Regions from separate parts of the Homo sapiens genome. Here regions 1 and 3 are each linked to region 2. The links are contacts of gene promoters, found by promoter capture Hi-C in human tissues and cell types (Jung and others, 2019). All regions are on one chromosome and are shown on one strand. Each heading gives the region's core, a stretch centred on a gene start or on the middle of the fragment in contact. The rest is flanking DNA. Distances are from core to core; before and after follow the strand shown. Region 1 holds the start of SNORA19 (small nucleolar RNA, H/ACA box 19). Region 2 holds the start of INPP5F (inositol polyphosphate-5-phosphatase F). Region 3 has its middle 100 kb from the start of PLPP4.

Evidence for each region. The method cuts DNA at HindIII sites, captures the fragments that hold promoters and counts their contacts. A contact is called where the count stands out against the background at its distance.
Region 1: a fragment that was not itself captured here is called in contact with the fragment with the promoter of INPP5F in region 2 in 1 of the 25 tissues and cell types used here (IMR-90 fibroblasts).
Region 3: a contact is called between a fragment that was not itself captured here and the fragment with the promoter of INPP5F in region 2, in 1 of the 25 tissues and cell types used here (stomach).

What each region holds. Positions count from the first base shown.
Region 1 is chr10:119,059,219-119,061,924 of GRCh38, forward strand. EIF3A (eukaryotic translation initiation factor 3 subunit A) reads right to left here. Exons shown (of 22, transcript NM_003750.4): 8 at 2,006-2,110; 9 at 1,528-1,626; 10 at 384-500; 11 at 1-179. SNORA19 (small nucleolar RNA, H/ACA box 19) reads right to left here and starts at 920; the gene lies at 793-920. It overlaps LOC124900296 (small nucleolar RNA SNORA19), which reads right to left and starts at 1,893; the gene lies at 1,765-1,893. The HindIII fragment of the contact is 6,036 bases long and covers 1-2,706 here.
Region 2 is chr10:119,724,777-119,727,476 of GRCh38, forward strand. It overlaps INPP5F (inositol polyphosphate-5-phosphatase F), which reads left to right and starts at 1,274. Exons shown (of 20, transcript NM_014937.4): 1 at 1,274-1,583. The coding sequence starts at 1,487. RefSeq lists an enhancer at 273-322 and a silencer at 933-1,702. The HindIII fragment of the contact is 7,792 bases long and covers 1-2,700 here.
Region 3 is chr10:120,354,631-120,357,496 of GRCh38, forward strand. It overlaps the pseudogene RPL21P16. Among named protein-coding and RNA genes, the nearest start is that of PLPP4, 100 kb to the right of the region's middle. The HindIII fragment of the contact is 3,748 bases long and covers 1-2,866 here.

The DNA of each region.
Region 1 (2,706 bases), core at 111-2,610, 670 kb before region 2:
TGAGCTGGTTTAATGACTTCAAGTGCTTTTGCAAGTACTGAGGACATGGCTGTCAGCTGGTTTCTTATCTGCTCTGAAGGCATGCTTTGCAAATGAGGACCAATCGGAGCATCTTCTCGAGTAGCATAATTCAAATCAGATCCAAAACTCAGGGTCCGAGAAGTGTGATCAATACGAACCTTTGAAAATTAAATTATCAATGGTTAAATCCACAAGTAAGCATGAAGTCAAAAAGTAACAGAAGAATGTCATATACAAAAGCTGGAAAAGTTCACTCAGTAAACTTTAAAATGGTATCACTGTACCAAAAGCTGAGAAACAGAAGGTATGTGTCTTTCTAGCCCTCAAGGGCCTTCTCCTGTCTCCTTACAGCACATACCTACCTGCAAGTCGCAATGCCTGGCTGCATCTACTATGGCCCGTTCCAGTTGGAAAGCATCAACAAAAGGAACCAAAGAAGTCAAACGAGAAAACTCAATGCTCTGATAAATCTGTGACACCTGCATAGAAAACAAAGGGTTAATAACACTAGCCACTGTTTATTCAGCACTTTTTATGTGCAATCTCATGACAGTCATGGGAAGTAGAAATTATGCCAGAGAATTTATGTTAGCAGTACATTGTTAAAGCCAGAATGCTAATCCCAGACCATCGACTCTAAACTCCATGCTTTGAGAACCATTATCATACTATTCCTCAAACCTATAATCTTTTCAAATCCTAGTTGTTGTAAAACAAAAAAGCCTAAAAACCTGCTACTTACCGAATATATTTAAACACTTCTTATAGAATTTTTGTCTGAAGGAGACTGGCAGCATTACTATTTATAGTTATACTGCTAATTAGCCTTCAATTATTTGTATAGCACATAAGAAATAACACTACTCACATAAAAGAAAGCAGGTCAATGAAATGTGCACAAATACTGAGATGAAAATATAATAAAACGCCCTCCTTCCCAAATGCAACAAATGGAAAACAAAATGGGAGCACTTACTGACTTAAGCCCCTGGACTAAAATATATGAAAAGGCTGTCTCATTCACTCATGGTGGGGGGTCTATTAATCCAGGCTTCTGAATAGCTATTAAAGCTTTAAATCCATAAACCCTATGACTAATTCCACTTCTTATGCCACAGAAAGTAATAGAAGTATGCAAAGATACATGTATGAAAGATGCTCAATGCTACAAGATTTCTAACAGGGAAAAAAAAAATCTAGGAATACAGGTTTTCATCAAGAGAGTCTGAATAAATACACCACAGTACCTTAAATGGAATAAGGTAGCCCTACATTACTAACAAGGAAAAATGCCCAAAGACAGTGTTCAGCCAAAAAACAAAAGCGTCCGTTACAAAATATGTAAATATAATAATTCTGATTTTCAAATTAATAAATAGACTAATTTTTGCCAGGGGCAGAACTTGGGGAGGTTCTCACTTCCTAGGCAGTTCTAGATTTTTCCAGTTTTTAGTTTCATGATGAGCACATAACATCACAAAACTTTTTTTATTTTTTTATTTTTACCTGCTGCAGAAGGCGGAGGATGGTGTTGTTTTGCAGTTGTGGCACATACTGCTGCAATTCCGGTTCCTTTTCAGGTTGTTCCCTAACCCAATTTAGAACCTATAAAATCCATTAAATTGAAAGAGAATCACACTTTCTACATAAGAGATACTAAAACATCTAAAACTCTTTTTTTTTTAATATACAAAAACATCATCCAATGCAAAGAAATACAAAATGTATCATGAAGCTACTGATACTTGTTTGAAGGTGACTGGCAGCAATGGCTAAATTAGTCATGCTGCTAATTAACCTCCAAAGGTTTGCTGAGCACATCAGATATATCTTTTCTCTTGAAATAAAGAAAAAAGACAATGAAATGTGCACTGAATTCCAACACATAGGACAAAACTTCTCTCTTAACAAATATGAATACAACCCAAAACTGCAAGAAGGCCAACTCTGTGGTAACAACCAGAACTTAAATACAAAGGCTTACCTTTGTGACTCGCTCACAGAGTTTTAATGGGTTAAATTCTACTTCAAGCCAATTGTAAAGGTCTTTCACTTCTGGGACAACATATTGTAGTACATTAAATCTGACCTACAGTAAGCAAAACAAAAGATGTAACTGCCAAAGGAAATTTTCCAACTAAAATTCTGAACTTAGTATAAATGATAGCATTGGAAATCTGGAAAATGATTTAAAAAATCATCAAGCCTCAACCTCCTCTAAATTTACCAAAAATGAATCCAAAGTACAACTATGCTGGGTCTTTTGCCCCACACTATGCACATTAACCTACCGTGAAAAGCCCCACAAGTATGTAAAAAGGAAATGAAACTCTAAAAAACACAACTACAACCAATTAAATATTCACAAAGACAACTACTGTGGCCAATAGAATATTTTATTACCAATAACAAGGAAAATACCAGTTTTACTTTTATATAAATTATCACACAAAAATTATCATGGCAGCACTATTTCTAATAGCCCCAAACTGGGGAGAATTCACATATGGTGTATTCATAAAATAAACAAAAATGCTCAAAAAAGAACAGCTACATAGAACACATGAATAAATCTCACAAACATAGCGGTGAGAAAAGAATTTCACATATTACCCCATTTATATGGACTTCAATTTTACCATGGAATATGTCATTTTTTTTAGGAACTGTTAACCCAAGGACAAA
Region 2 (2,700 bases), core at 24-2,523:
TTTTACTTGAGCAGAAGGTTAAAAGTATTGCTTTCTGAGAAGTCCCATTCGGTCACTCCTCTCTCTCGCAAGAGAGACAGCTGTTCTCCCTTTTCTTTTGCCTATAAACTTCCGCTCCTAAACTAAAAAAAAAAAAAAAAAAAGTATTGCCTTATTTTTCTCATCTCCTACTTCTTGTCTTTTTCTCTTGTTTCCGATTCAGGCATTAGAGAAGGCAAGGAGTTAGGAGTAGGAAGACTCAATGATTTATAGAACTGGGGGTGTCATAAAAGGTCATTAGTTCAACCACCATCTGAGACCAAGAGACTTCCCCAAGATCACACAGCTAGATAGTCCTCGAACTGGCCCCGGAAGTGGGGGCCTCATTCTCCAGACCCATTCTGTTCAGGATATCAACTGGTTTTTCAAGACAGACTGAGCTCAAGGATGTTTGGGGGAGACTCCTCCTTCCCCGAGAGGGTCTCCATTCATCTTATCCTCGCCAAACGATATTCCTTCCGCTTGCTTCATTAACTGGCTCCATTTGTGAAGTCTTCTCCAAACCGCCCTGCTTAATTCGGGACACAGCAGCACCTGTACATTCCTCCCTTCCTCCTCGCTCTTTAGCCGCGTGCTGCTAATGCTTGTGTGTTTTCTATTGTTACATGCTTTCCCTCGTTGATGTGCATTTATTGAATGCCTCCTGTTGTCAAACTTCTAATAGGGAATACGAAAACAGAAGACGCCTCCGCTTGGCTGTGGGCCTGGCTGGGGATGAACCCCTGTAGCCAGGCCCCGGGGTCTCGCCTGGTTTCGGTACGGGCAGGCAGCGCAGGCCCGCGGGGAACGTACCCCGCACCGCTCCGGGAGAGCGGGTGTGGGGTTGGATTCAGGTCTCGGCCTGGCGAAGCGTGAGCGCCTCCCTGCACGGAGGGGAGGCCCCAGCGGTGGGCGCCTGTCCCCAAGGCCGCGCGGAGGGAGGCGGTCAGTCCAGACCGACTCGGCCGAGCTCCCGAGCTGCCACCGGTGACCACGACAGGAAGGCTGGCGCGCCGGGGGAGGGGCCTGGGCAAGAGCGGGAGGGGCGGGCGGAAGGACGAGAGGGAGGAGGAAAGACCCGCGGGGAGGAGCTGGGAGGAGACACCCGGGAGAAGGCGGAGGAAAGGGCAGGAAGCGGGAGGGAGCTGAAAGGAGGAGGAGGCTGAGGGGCGGAGCCGGGCGCTCGGGGAGAGTAGCCAGCAGAGGGGGTGGAGCCGGGCCTGGGGCGGAGCCAGGGAAGGGGAGGAGCGGGGGGGAGAGGCCTCTACGGCCGCCGCTGCCGCCGCCGCTGCCGGGGCGCGTTCTCCTCCTACCGGTCGGGTGCCCCGGGGCGTTCCCTCTGCCGCTGCTTCTCGGCGCGGTTCCTACCCGGCCGCTCCCCGAGGCGCGGGCTCTGGCGGCCTCGACCGACTAGGACGCCCCGTGCGCCGCCCGCGGGCCGCCGCCTCCCTGGGCGCGCGGGGCCAGCATGGAGCTCTTCCAAGCCAAGGACCACTACATCCTGCAGCAGGGCGAGCGCGCGCTGTGGTGCAGCCGCCGCGACGGCGGCCTCCAGCTCCGACCCGGTGAGGCTGGCGGTGCGGGCGGGGGGCACCCCGGGCCAGGGCGGGGAGAGGAGGGGGCGCGGCCGGACCCCTCAGCCGGGCGGGAGGAGCCGCCTGCGGGCCTGGTGAGGCGGGGCGGGGCGGGCTGCGAGCGCGCGAGCTGTCATTATTCCCTGACTGGAAGGAGCCTGGCCTTTCTCCGAGACAGCGCCGAGCCCCTACCCCAGTGCGGAGCAGAAGGGGCTGGCGACCCTCGTCCTTCCCACCGCGTCACGCGGCCGCCCTTGGGGCTTGGGGCCCAGGCCGAGGGGAGGGGGTCCCCTCCGGCAGAAAGTTCCAGCAAGGTGCACCTGGCCGTAAAGGCCTCTTCCTCCTTGGAGTAGTTCTTACATGGCCTTCGCCAGAAGTTCTGGGTTCGAATTCCGATCTGGAGCGGTTGCGCCAGTTCCGTCTAGGGCTCTGCTGGACACTCACTCCCTGTTGCCATCCCGTGTGTTCTTGGTCCCTTATTATTAAAGGTGTGACTTTACTGTGGTTACCTCATAGGCACTCGGTTTAAAGCCTTTGTCTTTGACTTTAATACCACAGCACAATTAAATTGTATTGTAATGTATAATTTTGAGATTTTTGTGTGACTTGATGTTGTGCGACACAAAATGTATTGTGGGTCCATGTTTGGGTGTCATGTAAGCTGTTCGGAGAGGCTTAAGTCTGCAATTAGCTTGCTTTAGGAAAATGTGTGTGCAGTCGTGGTTTAAACAGAGCAGTCCCTGCCCTCAGAGCGCTGACAGTCCAGTTTCTTGTAAGATGGGGCTGGGTGGCACCTGCCCCTTTTGGCTTGCTAATCCTTTCCTCATATCACTCAGAGATTCTTCCACTTTAGGGAAAGCGAGAGGATAGAGTTCTTTAAGGAAGGAGCCAGAGCTTTTCAGACTTACTTGTAATTCTTATGTGCAGTCTAGACAGAAGGATTACATGATATGAATTGAAAAGGATAAAAGGTTCAGATGAGCTTTTCAGATCACAGCGTGGTATCACTTATAGGATGGTTTTTAAGGACAGGCCCTTTAACATATTATTTCCAATCCCCACAGCAACCTTACAGGACACGTGTGGGATCCTCTTTTTCAGGTGAGGA
Region 3 (2,866 bases), core at 271-2,770, 630 kb after region 2:
TGAAAGTTCATTCTTTTTTTTTTTTTTTTTTTGTAGCCCAGAGGTCCTTTATTTTTTTTTTTAACACCTATTATGCCATGAATTCATAGGGAATAGGTTCCAGCAGCTCAGGCTCCTTCCCATTGGTTCTCACAAAGTGTGCTTCTCTGGGTGGAGCAGGCTGGCGCTTTAGTTGAACCCAGGTACCTTTCTCTTTGGCTTCTTTCTTTTTCTGATCATTTTCCTTCACACGTTTCAGGAAGCTATCTCGGCTCTTAGAGTGCTTAATGTGCTCAATACGCACATTAATTCTCTTGGCAAGAATCTTGCCCTTAACTTGTTTGTTTACAACAATGCCAACAGCATGCTGGGTAACATTGTAGACTCTTCCAGTTTTGCCATGGTAACACTTGTGGGGCATTCCTTTTTGAACAGTACCCATTCCCTTGATGTCTACAATATCACCTTTCTTATAGATTCGCATATATGTGGCCAAAGGAACAACTCCATGTTTTCTAAAAGGCCTAGAGAACATATATCGGGTGCCTCTCCTCTTTCCCTTTGTGTTCGTCATTTTGGCGAATTACTGGAAGATGGCGGTTCCGGCCGAAAGGGAAAGTTCATTCTTGAGCTGAGGCAGACAAACCATTTGGCTTTCTTCAAGGCAAATCACAGGTAAACATGGATTTAGATTATGTCTGTTCTAGCAAACTTTTTATTCACATGAAAAGGGCCTACATAAATATCAGTTCAAAGCAGAGAAATATGCTTTGGATAAACCAGGGAAGTTTGTTTCTGCAACAATATCAGTAGGTTGAGTATTAGATAGACCAAAGAAGGTGTCATTCGTCACCTGGAAAGTTGAGAGAGAAAAATCCATTGAAAACTGAAGATGGAAGAGACTGATACTGCTGTTTTGAATTTATGAGAGTCCAGAGGTGAGAGTTATAACCAGGCATTCCCTACTGTAGACATTTGCCAATTTATGCCCTCATGTTGCAATGAATCTTCAGAAGGACTAAGCATGGATGCTATTATTAAAGCTAATTAAATCGCTCTGAATTACAGCTCATCCAGGGTATTAGCTAACAGAATGGTCATCATACTGTCTGGAAGAAATAAATAAAAGGGGATTGGTTGAGTAAGGAATTCCACTGATGGGGTTTTTTGTTATTTTTCATTCAAAAATAAGCTCTCTGGAAATACTAGAAATTAAGACCCACTGTGCTTCATCTCTTAGAAGTGTTGTGTAATAGTGGTCCGACCCATGTTCATTGTTGAGAAGCAGGAACTGATTTTCTTGTCTAGTTTTTTAAAAAATCACATTTGCCAAAGTAATTAAATGAAAGGCTAATTGACAACAAACTTCCTATTGCCCTATAGTCACAACTTACATATGAAATAGCATATTTTGTTTCTCTTTTTGCATTTCAATATGGCAAAACCATTGATGTCTGAGGGACAGGCAGAGAGCAGATTAGTTTCCAGGCTCTAAACAATAACCAGAAAATGGCTTGTAATGAAAATCCAAGTTGAATATCACCATTGTGACAAGAAAAGGGAGATGTAATGAACCCAACAGCATCATCTATAGGAAAAGTAATTTAAAATGTTCACATAAAGTACAGCTAGTTTGGAGTGCAAATGAGCAGGAAAAGGGTTTTTGGAATCCATTTGGATGCATGTGGAGTGCATTTGAAAGTGATGTTGTATCATACTAGATATATATGTGTGTTTGTATATGTGTGTGCACGAATGGATGCCTGAGTCATATATATATGTGTATATATATGCATAGATGTATATATGTATATCTACATATGTAAAGTTACAAGTATATTTGACAAAATGAATGCAGTGGAGGAATGTGATTAATCAAATTATTTTTTATAATCCCTGTAGTTTGAAAAATAATTCACTTGGCTGGATTATGGCATGGAGGAAATCCTTAAAAAGAATCCCAGGGACCTGCTACGTCTCTGTGAGGGTCAGTTTATGTGTCAACTTGCCTAGGACATAGTACCCAATTATTTAACCAAAACAGTAGTTTAGGTGTTGTCATGAAGGTATTTTGTAGATGTAGTTAGCATCTATAAGCAATTGGCTTCAAATAAGGGGATTTCCTTAAGAGCAAAAACTGAGATTTCCCAGAGGGAAAATTCTGTCTCAATACTGCAGCATCAGTTCCTGCCTGAGCTTCTATCCTACTGACCACGTCAATTTCAGACTTGTGAGGCCCCGCAATCAAATGAGCCAATTCCTTAAAATAAATAAATCTCTTTAATTATTATATGCATTTGTATGTGTATACATGTGTATGTCTATTTATATCTATCCTACTGGCTCTATTTCTCTGGAGAGCCTTGACTGATAGTCTCAGATAACCTTCATATACTAGACAGTTCCAGCCTTCCCTGTACATTGCCTGATTTGAGTCTCAACTTTCAATGACCTCACTTGATTTATATTTAAATTATTTCATATTCATTTAAACACAGATATTAAAACGTGGTTGGAATTCTGATGAAAGTTTTCACTGAGGGAAAGTAGCTGAGATAATGGAATGATATTCCGTACCATACTTATTCTTCAGAGATCTGAAGCTGGGATTTCTTTCCTTGAGGTTTATGTTCTTTTTTGTTTGTTTGTTTGAGACAGGGTCTCGTTCTGTCGCCCAGGCTGGAGTGCAGTGGCGCGATCTCGGCTCACTGCAAGCTCCGCCTCCCAGGTTCACGCTATTCTCCTGCCTCAGCCTCCTGAGTAGCTGGGACAACAGGCGCCCGCCAGCACACCTGGCTAATTTTTTGTATTTTTAGTAGAGATGGGGTTTCACCGTGTTAGCCAGGACGGTCTCGAGCTCCTGACCTCGTGATCTGCCCGCCTCGGT